Linked DNA regions of Homo sapiens: all the other regions are linked to region 2. The links are contacts of gene promoters, found by promoter capture Hi-C in human tissues and cell types (Jung and others, 2019). All regions are on one chromosome and are shown on one strand. Each heading gives the region's core, a stretch centred on a gene start or on the middle of the fragment in contact. The rest is flanking DNA. Distances are from core to core; before and after follow the strand shown. Region 1 overlaps RPF2 (ribosome production factor 2 homolog). Region 2 holds the start of DDO (D-aspartate oxidase). Region 3 overlaps FIG4 (FIG4 phosphoinositide 5-phosphatase).

Region 1 (2,700 bases), core at 1-2,500, 570 kb before region 2:
TTGTAGTGAGCAGAGATCATGCCACTGCACTCCAGCCGGGCGACAACAGGACTCCGTCTCAAAAGAAGGAAAAAAGAAAAACTGGTGCTAATCAAATATGTCTGTCATTTGATTAACATGAGTGAATCGGTGTTAATTTATTAGTTTTGATCATTGCATTACGGTTATGCAAGATGTAACATTAGGGGAAGCCAGGTGAAGGGTATATGGGAATTCTGCATTATTTTTGCACTTTTCTGTAAATCTGTATTTCAAAATAAAATATATATGCTATGGTTACAACTATGCAAGGACATTCAATACAAATGAAAAAAACAGACCAAAAGAAAGAAATTAAAATATTAATAACTGTAAGGAATTTTAATATCTTTTTAAAAAGTTTTTGTTTTCCAAATCTTCCATAAAGTGGTTACTTTTATAATGAAACAAAATCATTTAAAATACAGTAAAAGAAATCATGACTTACTTTTTATATAGTACACCGTATGGTTTTTTCAGTGCATACTGTAAAACAAAATTTATAGCTTTCAAAACAAAACACATTCTGAAAAGCAGAAATAAAAATAAAGCATCATAACAGTCACTCTCCAAGATTGCTCTGGGGCCTCAATCTTATTCTGAGGGCTTCTGCCTGGCTCCCTTTTCATCACTTACAGTAACTTGAAATGTAAGCTTAATATTCTTGGACTAGACTTTCCTATTTAAAAGTTTCTATGCCCTGTCAATAGTCTATCCAACTTAAACAATTTCCTTCATTTCTTTAAACTCGACTTAGTCCAGTCTCTCTCTAGGGAAACAATTCCAGGTGCAGTGGCTCACGCCTGTAATCCCAACACTTTGGGAGGACAAGGCAGATCACTCAAGCCCAGGAGTTCGAGACCAGCCTGGGCAACATGGCAAAACCCTGTCTCTACAAAAAACTGCAAAAATTAGCCAGGCATAGTGGTGCATGCCTGCAGTCCCAGCTACTTGGGAGGCTAAGGCGGGAGGATCACCCGAGCTCAGGAATTCGAGGCTGTGGTGAACCGTGATTGCACCACTGCACTCCAGCTCTGGTGATAGAGTGAGACCCTGTCTCAGAAAAAAAAAAAAAAAAAGTAGTAGACAAAAACAGAAAAAATAAATTCTATCACGAAAGGCTGACAGATTGAAATAATGTTGCGTGGAGATCAGAAAACTTAGAAACAGTAATAATGATGACAATTAGAATACTAGCCAGAGGTTAAACACAGCTCTTTAAAAAATGCCTATTATTCAATGTTCTTCATTTTTTTCCTAGTTCTACCTATCCACAAATAATCATTCATTTTATTTTATTTATTTATTTTTGAGACAGGGTCTCACTCTGTTGCCCAGGCTGGAGTGCAATGGCGTGATTAAAGCTTACTGCAGCCTGAAACTCCAGGGCTCAGGTGATCCTCCCATCTCAGCCTCCCAAGTACAGACACATGCACCACGCCCAGCTAATTTTTGTATTTTGAGTGGAGATGGGGTTTCACCATGTTGTCCAGGCTGTATTTTATTATTTTTTTAAATTTAATTTATAGAGATGGGGTCTCACTTTGTTGTCCAGGCTGTCATCCTAGGCTTAAGTGATCCTCCCACCTCAGCCTCCCAAAGTGCTGGGATTACAGGTGTGAGCCACCACACCTGGCCTATAATCATTTATTACTTGTATGGCCAGTACTGCTCTACCATAGAGAATAACAAAGATGTCATCAGGTACTACCTTGCATTAGAGAAATGGGTAAATGAGGGAAACAATGAAAAATAAGGTATAATAATCATTCATCAACTATCAGAGTTGGTGAACAAAGAAAATGCAACAGTAAAATCTACCTTTTTAAGTACTAAAACTTTTGATGATTCTTGGCCAACTATTTCCCTGTTTCCGTGTAATAAACATTGCCACCTCTTCTTGATGACTCAGAGTCATCATGATGAATTTTAATTATTGTAGTAATCTGTAATATTGTGCTGCTTTTAAAGCTTACTTAAATATGCAGGGTCATTGTGCTGATGGATACTAGAAGGAGAGGGGCAGTTTCCCGTTAGCACAATGAAATTCAGACAAACATTTCAAAAAAGGGATGGGCCTATATAAGGCATTCAGACATCTGAATTGACTATGCTTATCAGGCATAGAGTTTGGTCAAGTTTAAAATATATTCAAAGCCAGGCATGGTGGCTCACTCCTGTAATCTCAGCACTTTGGGAGGCCGAGGCGGACAGATCATGTCAGGTCAGGAGTTTGTGACCAGCCTGGCCAACATGGTGAAACCCTGTCTCTACTAAAAGAACACAGAAATTAGCTGGGTGTGGTGGCTCCCAGCTACTTGGGAGGCTAGAGGCAGGAGAATCGCCTGAACCCGGGAGTCAGAGGTTGCAGTAAGCCAAGATGGCACCACTGCACTTCAGCCTGGGCAACAGCGTGAGACTCCACCTCAATAACAACAACAAAAATGTATTCGATTACTTAATTGATTTAATTCAAAGATCTATTGGCTGTACTCAAGGCCTAATTAGTCAAATAACCTACTAGATATCTCCACATACTATGTCTTTTTTTTTTTTTTAGTTGGAGTCTTGCTCTGTTACCCAGGCTGGAGTAAGTGCAATGGCGTGGTCTCAGCTCACTCCAACCTCCATCTCCCAGGTCCAAGCAGATTTTCCGGCCTCAGCCTCCCTAGTAGCTGGGAT
Region 2 (2,700 bases), core at 182-2,681:
GGCGGGCGCCTGTAGTCCCAGCTACTAGAGAAGCTGAGGCAGGAGAATGGCATGAAACCAGGAAGCAGAGCTTGCAGTTAGCTGAGATAGAGCCACTGCACTCCCGCCTGGGTGACAGAGCGAGACTCCATCTCAAAAAAAAAAAAAAAAAAAAAAAAGAGCTTGAGCCTTGACGTCAGATATCCAGACTGGATTTTACCATTTAAGAGACCCTGGACCCTTCCTTACTGTCTTGGAGCCTCAATGTACTCATATACAAAATGGGGATAGTGATAATAGTACCTACTTCATAGGGTGGTTGTGATATATGATGTCATACATGTGTCTAGCACATGGTTAATGCTACATATACATTATTGAAAATATTATTGTCACTAATTTGACACATCACACTGCCTCCCTGGAAACAAACTTGTTAACTGTGCCTCATGCCTAGAGCTCAGTAGACACTCATCAAATATTGAATCCCTTCTTTGAATATGTGGGCTAAATCAGGGATCCCAAATCCCCAGGCCACAGACCACTACCAGTCCGTGGCCTGTTAGGAACTGGCCTCACAGCAGGAGGTGAGCCGTGGGTGAGCAAGCAAAGCTTTGTCTTCATTTATACCCACTCCCTATCATTTGCATTACTGCCTGAGCTCTGCCTCTTGTCAGATCAGCTGAGGCACTAGATTCTTATAGGAGCACAAACCTACTGTAAACTGCGCACACAAGGGATCCAGTTTGTGTGCTCTTTATGAGAATCTAATGCCTGATGATCTGTCACTGCCTCCCATTACTTTCAGAGAAAACCATCTAATTGCAGGAAAACAAGCTCAGGGCTCCCACTAATTCTACATTATGTTGAGTTGTATAATTATTTCATTATATATTACAACGAATAATAATAAAAATAAAGTGCACAGTAAATGTAACACACTTGAATCATCCTGAAACCATCTCCCCATCCCCAGTCTGTGGAAAAATTGTCTTCCATGAAACCAGCCCCTGGTGCCTAAAAGGCTGGGGACTGCTGGGCTAAAGAATCATGTGGTTCTATCCTAGATTATCTCCTGAATAGTGTTTCCAGCTCCAATCAATCAACAACATTACTCAGCCCTCACCCCCTCCTTCCTGCTTCCCCCACCAGCTGACCCAGCAGAGCCAGGCACCCGGCTAACTGTGGGCAGCCAAACGAGGTTGGAAGTTGGACAGGCTCACCCATTATTCACCATACCTACAAATCAGCTGGAGAAAGCCCAGGCTGGCGGCCAGACAGAGGGCTCGTGGGCCAGAAAGGGAAGGGCTTGGCAGAGACAGCGCCATGGAGATGACAGGTTGAGGTCACTTGCTCCTTTCTCCGGGGCAATGGGTGACAGAGACAGCCATGCAGGCCAATGGAAAGGAAGACCAGGGGGAATGTCCTGAATCAAGTCACCAATGGGAATCAGTTTCGCTTTCTCTCTGTCTCTCAGGGCATGAGACCAGCCAGGCACTGGGAAACAAGGTTTGGTGCCAGAGATTTTGGTGGCTTCCAAGACTGCTTTTTCAGAGACAGGTACTTGAATTCTTGCTTTCAGCTGAGGGGTCGTTCCGTCCATGCTCTGGGAGTTTGGGAGTGTGTCTGAATAGGGTCAGGGGACAGTGATGGACAGGCCACTGTGCCAGGACACACCACATTGCTCGCTCACTCCTCCTCCCTGGCAGCTGGTTATTCTTAGCCACAGATTGCTTGCCCTTTCAACTTAGTTTATTAGAGCTGTTTTGAGAGAGTTGCTGGACATGGGAGGCTGATGTGAAACAGCGAAGTCAATAAGGTCACTGGTGGCTGCAGGACAGCTCTACTCAAGCTGGCCCCCACCAGACTGCTCTGGCCTGGGCCCGTTCCCTTCTCTTCCCTCAGCCCTGGCAGGCCCACTCTCTCTCAGCTGACCAGCCCACTGTACAGCAATCAAATTAACGTATCAAATTAGCACAGAAATGCATAGACTGCTCGAGGAATAGGAATATCACACTAAACTTCATTGGAGGGCTTTAAAGTCTCATAGTGCGAGAATCTTCAGAACTGGAAGAGAAAGCAGAGGCCACTAACAACCAAGCCCACGTTTTTCCTGCCAACAGCCCTTGCTGAGGAAGCTGCCCAGCCTTCCAGAGGAAAGGTGAACCTCTGTGTGTGGGTGGCCATGGTTTGTACCATGTGGCCCAGTACCCTGATTACTGTGCTTTGGACAGAGAAGGGCAACTATGCCAAGGGCACATTCAGAGGCTGGTTTAGCCCAGCAAGTTGGCCTGGTGCTAGAATTTTGTCCAACAGGGGATGCAATGACCAACTGGTACAACTGCATTTTCTCTCTCTGGAGTTTAAACCTGAGCCATACAGAAAGAGTCAGAGCAGGAACAGATGGGGAAAGCCAAAAACAGGGAAGCAAAGGCAGGCGGGGATGCTGACAGTGGAGCAAGGCTCCGTGGGTGAGGGGTGGGACAGAGGGTGCCAGCCTCAGGACACCTGGCCCGGGCTCCGGGATGTCTGTCCCCTGCATTTCCATTCAGACTCTCCCAAGGAGCCCCCTTTATGAGACCGCCTCACTGGGTCTCTCTTATTTACCACCCAAAGGAGCAAGTAATCCATCTGTTCTGTGTTACAGATGAGGGAGTGGAGGCTAGGAGACCACGGACTGCTCCTCAGGTTACAGAACCTGTCCAGGACAGACAGGGGGCC
Region 3 (2,700 bases), core at 3-2,502, 710 kb after region 2:
TTAATTGCAATGGGATGATACTTTGGCAGTTTGTGATTTTAAAAACAGATATAAATCCTGACATGCTCATGGGCAAATGCATTATTGGACTTCGAAACACATACTTAGGAAGGCAGATCTGTACTTCCAATATCTAGATCCTTCCAAAGAATCCATGAATCAGAGGAGCCAAAGGCTAAAACCCACAGAATCTGGAAATAGATCAGAGTGGAGGGAAAGAAATGGGAAGCACTATACCTACCCGCATTCTCTCTCTTCTCAAACAGTCTAAGAATCCTAAAAACGTTTTGTGCAGAGAATAGCGACCTCATGTGGAGCCAGTTATGAGGGAAAGAAAACCCCTGCTTTTCAGCTGGCCTACTGTAGACCGCGGAATCACTGCCTGCACTGCCCTCTGGTGGGCAGCTGACCATCCACTTTCACACCAATTTTTTAAGAGGTAACTTCCAGAAAGGCCTTGTTTCTACTCGTTCTTATTTCCTTCCTATTGAATATATCAACACTGTATATCCTCAGCCTTTGTTACATTTAATAGTATGCTTCAAAATGGACCTCAGCATTTTGGGGATTAAAAATTTCCCTAAAGTTTCCCTCCACTAAATTTTTCTCCACTGTTGATTTTTTTCCCAATTTTTAATTTAAAAAAATCTTCAAAGACAACAGAACAGTACAACGAACACCCATATACCCTTCATCTAGACTCACCAACTGTTAACATTTTGTTGCATTTGTTTTCTCCCTCCCCCACTCCTGATAGATGCTTTCTTCCTCTGAACCTCTGGAAATGAGTTGCAGGTATCGTAACACATAATCATAATATCATCAATACAATATATATGTACAATTTATATTCCAATTTTCCCCCCATCTCCCTATAATACCCTCTATAGCTGGATTTGATAAAGCCAGAATCTAATCAAGGATCATGTACTACCTATCTTTATGTAAAGTTATGTTACATCTTTTTAAATCTTTTAATCTAGAATAGTTCATCAGGCTTTGTTTTTCATGACTTCCCCATTTTTAAAGAGCCTACTTTTTTTTTTTTTTTTTTTTTTTGAGATGGAGTCTCACTCTGTCACCCAGGCTGGAGTGCAGTGGTGTAATCTTGGCTCACCAGAACCTCTGCGTCCTGGCTTCCCAGGTTCAAGCAATTCTCCTCCCTCAGCCTCCCAAGTAGCTGGGATTACAGACGTGCACCATGACACGTGGCTAATTTTTTTTGTTGTTGTTGTATTTTTAGTAGAGACAGGGTTTCGCCATGTTGGCCTGGCTGGTCTTGAACTCCTGACCTCAAATGATCCACCTGCCTTGGCCTCCCAAAGTGCTGGGATTACAGGCATGAGCCACCATGCCTGGCCCCAAGCCCACATTTTTTTACATACATTTTCTTGGTGTTTCTATTGATGTCACTCATTGGACCACTGACTAGTAAATGCCTCATATGTGTCAGGCACTAGGCTCGATGCCTGAGGAAAAAGATAAACTGAAGATATATTTTGGATATATAACTTACTGGTAGATGGGATCAGGAAGGAGAGTAATAGATCCAATTACCTTTAAGCAGATAGCTAGATGATGGTGCCACTTACTGATGTCGAGATGACTGGAGAAGAAACAGGTTTGAAGGGAAACCAAGAGTTCTGTTCACAACATGCCCAGAGAGGCCAAGTGAGAACTCAGTGGGTAAAAGAGCTCAGTGGGTGCCATCAGCATGTATGCAGCATTTAAAGCCATGGGACTGGGTTAAACCTACTAGAGAGAGTAGGGAGAGTGACGAGAGCCCAAAAAAGCTAGCCTGAGGAACTCCATTATTTAGAGGCTGGATACGGAGAAGGAACCAGCTGAGAAGATTGGGAGGAATGGCTGGTGAATGAGAAAACCCCAGCACGAGGTGGACTCGTCAAAGCAAAGAAAGATCATCTGGGAAAGGAGAAAGCAGTCACATCAGATGCTGCTGAGAAGTCAAGTCGATAAGGACAGAGCATCTGATGACAGGCGCTTGTGAGTGGCCCTTCTGTGGGCAGTCTCAGGGACAGAGAGGGGGCAAGATCCACAACAGAGATGTCTGAGGTGCAAAACAGGTAGAATCCTGGATAAAGATGGAGGAGTGGACACCTCTGGTCCTCCCAAACATCTTACTAAAACCATAGTAAAGTTTTTTATGTTTGTTTTTAGGCTCAAGCCCCAAGAGCAAAAGGAGGAACAAAGAAGATAAAGGAGAAAAATAAAAACCATTTGAAACTGAAAAGCATGTGTAACAAAGCTGACTCCTAAACTGGCAATGGTAAAGTCAAGAAGCAATCCAATTTACACAATAGAACCTCCAAAAGGCTTGGGAATTTGAAGCCCCTGATACCTCTGTAGTGTCAGAAGAAGATAAAAAGAAGAGAGCACAAAAAGAAGTTAGCACAGCTTCTGAAAAGAAAAAAAAACAAGCTTCAAACTAAAGATCAAGAACAGAGTAACATTAGAAGCTCTCAGCAACAATGCTGGAAGGTGGAAGAGAATGACATAAGGCCTTCAAAACTCTAAAGGAAAATTCATTCCAATCCTTAATTCAGTATTTATTTTATCAATCAAACCTGAGGGTGGCATAGGACATTTTTAGATACTCATGGGCTTAAAAAAAAAATGAACTTCTATGAACCCTTTCTCATGAAGTAATTAAAGGAAGTACTCTACCAAAACGAGGCCATA

The links. Contacts are between HindIII fragments. The study calls those that stand out against the background at their distance.
Region 1: a contact is called between a fragment that was not itself captured here and the fragment with the promoter of DDO in region 2, in 1 of the 25 tissues and cell types used here (dorsolateral prefrontal cortex).
Region 3: a contact is called between a fragment that was not itself captured here and the fragment with the promoter of DDO in region 2, in 1 of the 25 tissues and cell types used here (H1 embryonic stem cells).

What each region holds. Positions count from the first base shown.
Region 1 is chr6:110,986,832-110,989,531 of GRCh38, reverse strand. RPF2 (ribosome production factor 2 homolog) reads right to left here. Exons shown (of 10, transcript NM_032194.3): 3 at 467-504. Among named protein-coding and RNA genes, the nearest start is that of RPF2, 6.1 kb to the right of the region's middle. The HindIII fragment of the contact is 4,760 bases long and covers 1-2,700 here.
Region 2 is chr6:110,414,306-110,417,005 of GRCh38, reverse strand. It overlaps DDO (D-aspartate oxidase), which reads left to right and starts at 1,431. Exons shown (of 5, transcript NM_001372108.2): 1 at 1,431-1,539. It overlaps LOC105377936 (a long non-coding RNA gene), which reads right to left and starts at 1,362. Exons shown (of 2, transcript XR_942856.2): 1 at 1,219-1,362. The HindIII fragment of the contact is 14,658 bases long and covers 1-2,700 here.
Region 3 is chr6:109,703,035-109,705,734 of GRCh38, reverse strand. All of the region lies in intron 1 of FIG4 (FIG4 phosphoinositide 5-phosphatase), which reads right to left. Among named protein-coding and RNA genes, the nearest start is that of FIG4, 13 kb to the right of the region's middle. The HindIII fragment of the contact is 4,656 bases long and covers 1-2,700 here.